Regions from separate parts of the Homo sapiens genome. Here all the other regions are linked to region 1. The links are contacts of gene promoters, found by promoter capture Hi-C in human tissues and cell types (Jung and others, 2019). All regions are on one chromosome and are shown on one strand. Each heading gives the region's core, a stretch centred on a gene start or on the middle of the fragment in contact. The rest is flanking DNA. Distances are from core to core; before and after follow the strand shown.

What was found. Contacts are between HindIII fragments. The study calls those that stand out against the background at their distance.
Region 2: a contact is called between the fragment with the promoter of PLK5 here and the fragment with the promoter of MIDN in region 1, in 1 of the 25 tissues and cell types used here (heart right ventricle).
Region 3: a fragment that was not itself captured here is called in contact with the fragment with the promoter of MIDN in region 1 in 1 of the 25 tissues and cell types used here (spleen).

What each region holds. Positions count from the first base shown.
Region 1 is chr19:1,247,309-1,250,146 of GRCh38, forward strand. It overlaps MIDN (midnolin), which reads left to right and starts at 1,275. Exons shown (of 9, transcript NM_001388306.1): 1 at 1,275-1,352; 2 at 2,582-2,838. It overlaps LOC102723811 (a long non-coding RNA gene), which reads right to left and starts at 764. Exons shown (of 2, transcript XR_007067082.1): 1 at 705-764; 2 at 1-553. RefSeq lists silencers at 729-1,268, 1,359-1,818, 1,879-1,998, 2,029-2,498, 2,679-2,728 and 1 more and an enhancer at 1,352-1,885. The HindIII fragment of the contact is 34,576 bases long and covers 1-2,838 here.
Region 2 is chr19:1,522,574-1,525,326 of GRCh38, forward strand. PLK5 (polo like kinase 5 (inactive)) reads left to right here and starts at 1,504. Exons shown (of 14, transcript NM_001243079.2): 1 at 1,504-1,673; 2 at 2,732-2,753. The HindIII fragment of the contact is 15,366 bases long and covers 1-2,753 here.
Region 3 is chr19:1,639,487-1,642,611 of GRCh38, forward strand. All of the region lies in intron 3 of TCF3 (transcription factor 3), which reads right to left. Among named protein-coding and RNA genes, the nearest start is that of TCF3, 12 kb to the right of the region's middle. The HindIII fragment of the contact is 9,192 bases long and covers 1-3,125 here.

The DNA.
Region 1 (2,838 bases), core at 25-2,524:
ATTTTTAGTAGAGACAGGGTTTCACCATGTTGGCCAGGCTGGTCTCAATCTCTTGACCTTGTGATCCGCCCGCCTCGGCCTCCCAAAGTGCTGGGATTACAGGCGTGAGCCACCGCGCCCGACCGCATCATCTTTTTTATGTGACAAACTCCTAGTCATTCCTCAAACCGCAGCCCCTGTGACCCCCTTCCAAGGGTTATCCCAGCCTCTCCCTCTCTGGCCTAGCCCTGACCCTTCGGGGCTGGGTGTGCCTGTCAAGGTGGGGGCCACGGCTGCCGGGAGCATGGGTGGCAGCCGGAAGGAGACCTGGGGAGGAGCGCAGCCCTGGGAGGGGCGCCCATGGCCAGGGTGGGGGTGGAGGTGGTCAGGCCAGATAAAGGGAGGGGCCAGATGAGTGGACAGGAGGTGCTCCCGTAGGAATGGGGTCCCCTTCTCTAAATAGAGGGGCAGGACGGGGCCCACCTCAACCAGGACCATCCTCAAAAAGCCGACGGGGAAGGGTGAGATGCACACCACATTCGTGTCTCATTGGCTGTGGCCTCAGTTTCTTCATCTGTAAAATGGGGTAATGCCCACCCCAAAGGCTGGGAACCAGTGCATGTCCTGCATTAATGGGGGGTGATGGCCCCAAAGTGATCCTGCCGCATCCCCTCACCACACTCCCACCCACCCTGGAGAAACTGAGGCTTGGAGAGGCCAGTTACCTCCCGGGGTCACAGCATAGCCGGCTGGTGACTGGCTGGGCACAAGGCAGGCCTGGCACTGGCTAATCGCTCCATAAATGCCCTCTGAGGTCACCATTGACAGATGCAGGAGGCCAGGGCTGGCCAGGGCACCCCCACTCTACGGCAGGTGACTCCAGCCTGTTTTCCTGGACGACAGCCGCTGACTCAGGCCCCTCTTCCCGTCCCCCCCACGCGGGCGCCCCCAGGCGGAAGCACCGGGCCTGGGGCGACAGGAAGGGGGCGGGGCAGCGAGTCGCGCTGTACACCCCAAAACCCTGTCCCGCTGACGATTCGGGGTGCATCTCAGCCCGCGGCGAGGCGGGCCGAGACCCTTGGCTCGGGGCATTCAAGGGGAGTCCCCCCATGAACTGCGCCAAGCCTGGGTCCCGGGTGGCCCAGCCGTCAAGGCGCCCCAGGGCCAGGGCCGGCAGGCAGGGGCGGGGGCCAGTCTGCGTCACCGCCCGCCCGGCCCCCCGCCCCCCTGCCCGCCCTAACTCCACCCCGAGGGAAGGCGGCGCGGATAAAGGCTGAGGGCCGCGCGCTTGGCCCAGACCGGCCCGGCCAGCGCGCATTCGGCCCCGGACGAAGGTACTCGCAGCACTTGGAGCGCAGAACCGGCCGCGCCCGGTGAGTGTGGAGGGGGGGGACCTGCGGGCCGAGGAAGGGTGCCCACTCTAGATGGCTCAGGATGCCCGCACTTTTCTTTGTTCTTGGGACAGGAGGGATCGGGGAGCCTCCGGTCCTGGGAAGCCCCCCGGGGTGCGGGGTGGGAGGGGCTCCGCGCAGCCAGCGCCGCCCTGGCCGGACCTCAGCCCCCGCCCCGCCCCCCGGGGCACTCCCCCTTCACCGCGGGTGACCTTGAACTGGTTGCCGTTCCGCCCTCCGTTGCCCAGCCACACGGTCCCAGTCTCCCGACTACAGTCTTTCGTTCCCGATCGGGGTTCCTCCCCCGCGCGCAGCCCAGTCGTCTTCCTCCCCTGCCAGGGGCAGCGCGGCGCCCCCTCCCCGGGACTCCGGGCGGCGCTCCCAGGCGGGCCCGGCAGAGGGCGCGCCCGAGCTGCTGACTCACCGCATCCCCGAGCGCGCGCGGGCGCAGCCGGGGACGCCGCGTCACGTCACGGCTCGAGCGGGCGCGCCTCGGGGAAACGGGTTCTGCCCGCGGCCGGCGGGTGGGCGCGCGGGGCCCCCGGCGGCAGCCACCCGGCCACGTCACCGAGGTGCGGGCGCCCCGCCCCGGCCACAACTCCGCCCCCACGCACCACGCCCTCCCCGGGGCCGCGGCCCTAGCCTCACCGTCGCCCGCCCGCCCCGGGACCCCGGCCACGAGGCGCGGACTTCGCGCTCCCGCTTCCGCTCGCGGCTTTTCCCGGACGAAGGCGGCGGGGTGGCCCCACGACTTCCTGCCCCTCCCGGCGCCGGGAACAATGGCCCGCGCCCCCTCCCGCTCCCGGCCGCTCCCTTGGGATCGCGAGGGGTACCAGACCCGTCTCCAGACCTGGGTCCCGCGCCCCCCGGGGCGCGCCCGCCCTTTGTTGCGGGCTCCGGGCGCTTATGAATGGCTGCGGGCGCGGGCGGGGCGGGGGCGGGCGCGGAGAGGCGCCAGCCCCGCCCCCGCTGCGCTCCCCTTGGTCGCCTGGGCGCTGGGGGCGGGGCGAGGGGGCGGGCCCGGCTGCCACGTGGGGCGGTGCCGCGGCGGCTCTCATAGGCCCGGGCTCGCGGCCGACTGGGCGCTCGGCGCGCGGCGATTGGCCGGCGCCCGGCCGGCGGAGTAAGTAGTGAATGGGAGGGGGCGGCGGCCCCGCCCCCTGGAACGTTGATACATTATAACTTTTTTTTCTTGTTACTTTCACCCCCAGATCCTCCGAGCGGCGGCGACGGCTGTTGCTAAGGGAGGGGACGCGCGAGGAAGCGCGACCCGGGCGGCAGACGGCACCCAGCGCCACCAGCCGAGCGGCGCCCCCTCCCCAGGACCCTTAACCGCGCCGCGTCCCGGTCGCGCCCGCCGCCCTTTGAAGGAGAAGCAAGTGCCGTCCCCACCCCCGGAAGGCGCCCCCAGGAGCCGGAGCGACCTCGGAGCGCCACTCGGATTTTGGATTTCGGTCTCGCATTCCGC
Region 2 (2,753 bases), core at 254-2,753, 280 kb after region 1:
ATCACACCACGGCACTCCAGCCCGGGTGACAGAGCAAGACTCTCTTTCAAAAAAACAAACAAACAAAAAAAAAAGCAAGGAACTGGCTTTCTGCCCCTGGAGGATTCCAGGGTGACAGTCGTGTGACAGCTCAGACACTCGGGCCCCGAGCAGCCCACCTTGCAGCCACCTCACCTGATTCTCATCAGCAGGGGACTTGGGCTCCCCAGCTGCAACCCGGTGGCCCCAGGCTGGCCAGGAATCTTCCGCCCTGGCCCTGGGACCAGAAACCCCGCAAAGGTGCCCGAGCTCAGCCCCGTCCAATGCACGGGGGCCCCATTCGTGACACCAGGTGGACACGTGACGGCTCAGAAGGTGTTTCCTGTCCCTAGTGGTGTGGCCGGGCCAGATTCCGAAATCTGGTCCCTGGAAAATTCCAGCCCCACGGAGCCTGGTAACCCCTCCCCATTCCTGGTGTTATGTAACATTTGGGGATTAATACCGCAGGCGTCCAGGGGCGGCTGCCGGGATTCAAACCCAGCGCTGCCCTTTCCTGGGCTGACTGAGCGACTTTGCGTCCCTGGGTCTCAATGTCTTGCCTGTACAATGGGGACAAGGCCCGTTTTTGTGTCCCAGGCTGGGTGGAAGGGTGAGGGAAGACCTCACCAGGAAAGGGGTGCACCTGAGTCTGGGGCAGGGCTTGGAGCAACCACCCCCACGATTCCGGGGGAGTCTCAAGCCCCCCACTGTCTTCCCACCCAGCTGTTCTCTGAGTTCTCTGAGGTTTCTGATGCTCTCTGAGGTCGCCATTTCAAGGACGTCCCCACCTGGCTGTCCGTGCAAACCCCAGCCAGGGTCCACCTGCTGCTCCACACAGCCCATCCCTTCTCCGGGCTGAAGCTCCCTCATATGGGACATCCACTACACTGTAGGACCCCAGCCCATGCGTCCCCAAGCCCCGGTCCTGCCTCCTGGGTCCCTGTCCCAGGCCTCACCGCCCTCCCCACCAGCCCCAGCATCACAAACGCTGGGCTTCTCTGCCGCTCCGAATTCTGCTGTGGCTCCCCAGTGCCCAGGGCCATCAAGCCCCAGGTTTTCATGTGGGCCCCAGGGACCCGCCAGCAGGGAGGACCCGAAATGGCACACATTCAGAACGTCGAGGCTCATACCTCAAGCGCACTGTGGGGGAGAAGCCCCCGGAAGCCCCCAACCCCCCACGCGCGAGAGAGCCTCAGTTTCCCGCTCGGTAAAGCGGGCGTATCAGCGGTTCCCAGCCAGCCCGGGTGTGCAGGGTCGGAGGAGCTCGCGGGCTGAGCGCGGCCCCTGGCGCCCGGTTGGCGTGCGGGACTCGGGCGCGCTCTGGTCCGTGGAACTTCCCCAGCCGCGGCGTCCCCGCCGCTCACGCGCCCCCCACTCCACGGCCGGGCACCTCCCGCCCCTCCCCGGGCTGGACCTGCGCCCGGGCTCCGCCCCCTCCCCGCCCCCGCGGCCAATAAAACGCTCCCCGGCGGCTCCTGCGCCCTCAGAGCGGCCCCGGAGCGGCCGCAGCGCGGTGGTCTCGGCCCGGCTGCGCCAGAGTCCGCGCGATGGAGCCCCGGCCGCGGCGGCGGCGCAGGAGTCGCCCCCTGGTCGCCGCCTTCCTGCGAGACCCGGGCTCGGGCCGCGTGTACAGGCGCGGGAAGCTGATCGGCAAGGTGGGAGGCCCGCGCCCCGAGTCCGCGACGGGGCCGGACCGGGCTGGGCTGGGGTCCCGGGGCGCGCGGGCGATCCTGCGCGGTCTACGCGGCGCGTCCCTGCGAGCGCGGGGTCTGGAGCGGGCGCGCGTCCGGAGCCGCGGGGCCTCCCGTGCGGGGTTTCGCATGGCGGGAACCGTGTTGAGCGCGCTGTGCGTCGTGTCCGTGGGTTGCGTGTCCGGGGTGTGGGCGTGCGGCTCGGCCTCGGGATGCGACGCTGTGTTGCCCCTGGGTGTGTGTGCGAGCCTGGCGAGGGTCTGAGTGTGCCGCGTCTGTGCCCGCTGCTTCCAAGTGTCTGGGTGCTGTGCGGTGTTCGTGTGTGTGTGTGTGTGTGTGTGTGTGTGTGTCTGGGTGTTGTGTTGCTTGTTCACCTGTTGTTTGTGCGTCATGCCTTTGTGTGTCCAGTCATTGTGTTGTGTGTCTGGGTGTTGTGTGTTCATGTGGTGTGCTTGTGTGTTTGTGTGTTCATATGTGGTGTGTCTAGGAGTTGTGTGTTCATGTGTTTGTATCTGTGTCTTTGTCCATGTGTTGTACTGTGTGTCCAGGTGTTGTGTGTTCATGTGTTTGTGTGTTCCTGTGCTGTGTCTGGGTATTGTGTTGTGTGTCCACACGTGGTGACTGTGTGTCCAGACATTGTATATTCATGTGTTTGTGTGTTGCTGCGTTGTGTATCTGGGTGTTGTGTTGTGTGTCCATGCATGGTGACTCTGTGTCTGGGCGTTGCGTGTTTGTGTGTCGTATTCAGGCGTGGTGTTGTGCATCCGGTGCTGTCTTCTGGTCCGTGGCCTCTATGCACCAGGCGTGGATGTGTCTGTGTCTGTGTCTCTGTGCCTTCTTGTGTGCATCATGTCTTGTGTGTCCAGGCGGGAGGGTGGGAGCTGTGTGTTGTTTTTTCCCCGGTGTGTGTGTGGAGAGACCTGGACGCGCCTGCGTCCCTGGCTGCCCTGTGCCTCTGTACGCGCTGCCAGCTTGCACACCCGTGCACACCTGCCCACTGATCTGCTGACCCCTCCCCACAGGGCGCCTTCAGCCGCTGCTACA
Region 3 (3,125 bases), core at 343-2,842, 390 kb after region 1:
TCAGCCTGACATTAAACAGATTAAAAATCTAAATATGGTTCAAAGGCCTCGCAGCTCCACATCCAACTATCCCTCAAGTACTCACAAAGAAGGACAAAAATAATCCATGTTTCAGCCTCGGCAGAGGAGCTCTGCGTCCTCCAAACAGTAGCTACCGTTTAAGCCAAAGCTGAGTTTTGGCACTGGAGATCTAGAAATCAAGAAAGGACCTCCAACTTGGAACTCAGAAACCTCTGAAGCAACCTGACCTGAAGAGGAAATTAGGAAAAAAAAAAAAAAAAAAAAAAAGGAACAAATGTCAGTAATATGAGAAAAACATGCATTATGGAAACCAATGGGATGGGGTTCACGGGGTGGAACCCTCAACACCACACTGATGGAACAGAAGAGGGCAGAAGTCAGCAAAAGGGGCCTGTGATCTGAAAGTCACCAAAAACTTTAGAAAGAGAAGAAATGCCGATAAAGAGGAAAATTGATCAATTGATCAATATCGATTTGCCAATGAAGCAGATTCTCCAGAAGAAAAATCAACGAGAGAGAGAAAATGCACAGGGCAGCCGAGTCAAGAACAAAGAAACCACCTAAAAGTTGGCGCATTGAGGACCGCGGCGCCCTCAGCCTCCCTGCGCAGGTGGAAAGACAGGCGCCTCCAAACGTTATCAAAGAGCCGAACGGGGCCAGGCGCAGAGGGTCAGGCCTGGAATCCCAGCACTTTTGGCACGGGTGGACAGACAGGCGCCTACAAACATTATCAAACAGCCAAATGAGGCCGGGCTCGGTGGCTCATGCCTGTAATCCCAGCACTTTGGGAGGCCGAGGCGGGAGGATCACCAGGTCAGGAGACCGAGACTGTCCTGGCTAACACGGTGAAACCCTGCCTCTACTAAAAATACAAAAAATTAGCGCAATGGTTACTAAACTCTCTAAGTTTCAGCTTCTTTACCAGTAAAATACGGTAATAATTACACCTATTTCGCTAACCTGTTAGAACTGAGAATTCCCAGTGAATAAGCCAAGCTTTGTGTCCAATGCACAGTGCTCAAGAAACACTGATGTAAGCAGTGGCTCACACCTGTAATCCCAGCACTTCGGGAGGCCGAGGCGGGCGGATCACAAGGTCAGGAGATGGAGACCATCCTGGCTAACAAGGTGAAACCCCGTCTCTACTAAAAATACAAAAACTTAGCCGGCACCTGTAGTCCCAGCTACTAGGGAGGCTAGGCAGGAGAATGGCGTGAACCTGGGAGGCGGAGCTTGCAGTGAGCTGAGATCACGCCACTGCACCCCAGCCTGGGTGACAGAGCATGACTCCGTCTCAAAAAAAAAAAAAAAGTGATGTAAATTGTTGTATTACTGATGTTGTTAAAAAGTTAATGAGGCGGCCAGGCGCGGTGGTTCACGCCTGTAATCCCAGCACTTTGGGAGGCCGAGGTGGGTGGATCACTGGAGGTCAGGAGTTTGAGACCAGCCTGGCCAACGTGGCGAAACCATGTCTCTACTAAAACTACAAAAAATTAGCCAGGCATGGTGGCAGGCACCTATATTCCCAGCTACTCAGGAGGCTGAAGCAGGAGAATCGTTTGAACTCAGGAGGCGGAGGCGGAGGCGGAGGTTGCAGTGAGCTGAGATCGTGCCACTGCACTCCAGCCTGGGCAACAAGAGCAAAACTCGGTCTCAAAAAAAAAAAAAAAGTTAATGAGGCAGCAATAAAAAGAAAAAAAAAAGATACAGCCAACAGCTTGGCTGGATCTCCAGGGAATTATGCTAACGTAACAGAATAAAAGCTAATCTCAGAAGGTTGCAAACTATAGGATTCCATTTACACAAAATACTCAAAGTGAAAAATTGGGCTGGGCACAGTGGCTCACACATGTAATCACAGCACTCTGGGAGGCTGAGGTAAGAGGATCACTTGAGCTCATGAATACAAGATCAGCCTGGAGAACACAGCAAGACCCCATCTAGACAATATTTTTTTATTCTTCAGACACGGTCTCCCTCTGTCCCCGAGGCCAGAGTGCAGTGGCGCAATCTCAGCTAACTGCAACCTCCGCCTCCCAGGTTCAAGTGCTTTTCGTGTCTCAGCCTCCCGAGTAGCTGGGATGACAGGCACGCACCACCACGCCCAGCTAATTTTTGTATTTTTAGCAGAGACGGGGTTTCGCCACGTTGACTAGGCTGGTCTTGAACTCCTGGCCTCATGTGATCCACACACCCTGGCTTCCCAAAATGCTGGGATTATAGGTGTGAGCCACCGCACCCAGCTGAAATTTTTCTTTTTTTTTAAACAGAGACAGGGTTTCTCCATGTTGCCCAGGCTGGTCTTGAACTCCTGGGCTCCGGCAATTCTCCCATCTCAACCTCCCAAAGTGCTGGGGATTACCAGTGTGAGCCGCTGACCCAGCCCTCTACAAAATACATATTTTTTTAATTAGGTGGTCGCAGCTGCTCACAAGGCTGAGGTGGGAGGATCAGTTGAGCCCAGAACTTCAAGGCTACAGTCAGTTATGATCACACCACTGCACTCCAGTCTGGACAACAGAGTGAGACCTGGTCCCTAAAAAAAAAAAATCGTACAGATGAAGAACAGATTGGTGATTCCTGGGCTTAAAGAAGGTGCATGTCTCAAAACTGCACAGAACTACACACACACACACACACACACACACACACACACACGCACGCGTACACACACGCACGCAGACACAGACGCAGACACGCACACACGCGCAGACGCACAGACACGCACGCGCAGACGCACACACACGTGCGCACACACGCACGCACACGCACAGACGCGCACACGCACAGACACACACCCGCACGCACACACAGACACACACACGTGCGTGTAAAGCCGGTGGAATCTGATCAGGATCTGTGGACGGCACCAATGTCGGCTTCCTAGGTCTGACGCAGCACCACGGGTGGGCGGGACGGTACCCCTGGGGGTGGCTAGGTGAGAGGAGAACACTCTGCCACTTCCTGTGAATCCCGAAAGACTTCAGAATAAAAAGTGGATCAACTTCAAGGACGAGGGCCCAAGAGAGTAACAGAAAATTCACCAGAGAGCCATTCACAGGGTCAATCCCCTTCCGAGAAGACCACCGCCCTCTATTAAACAA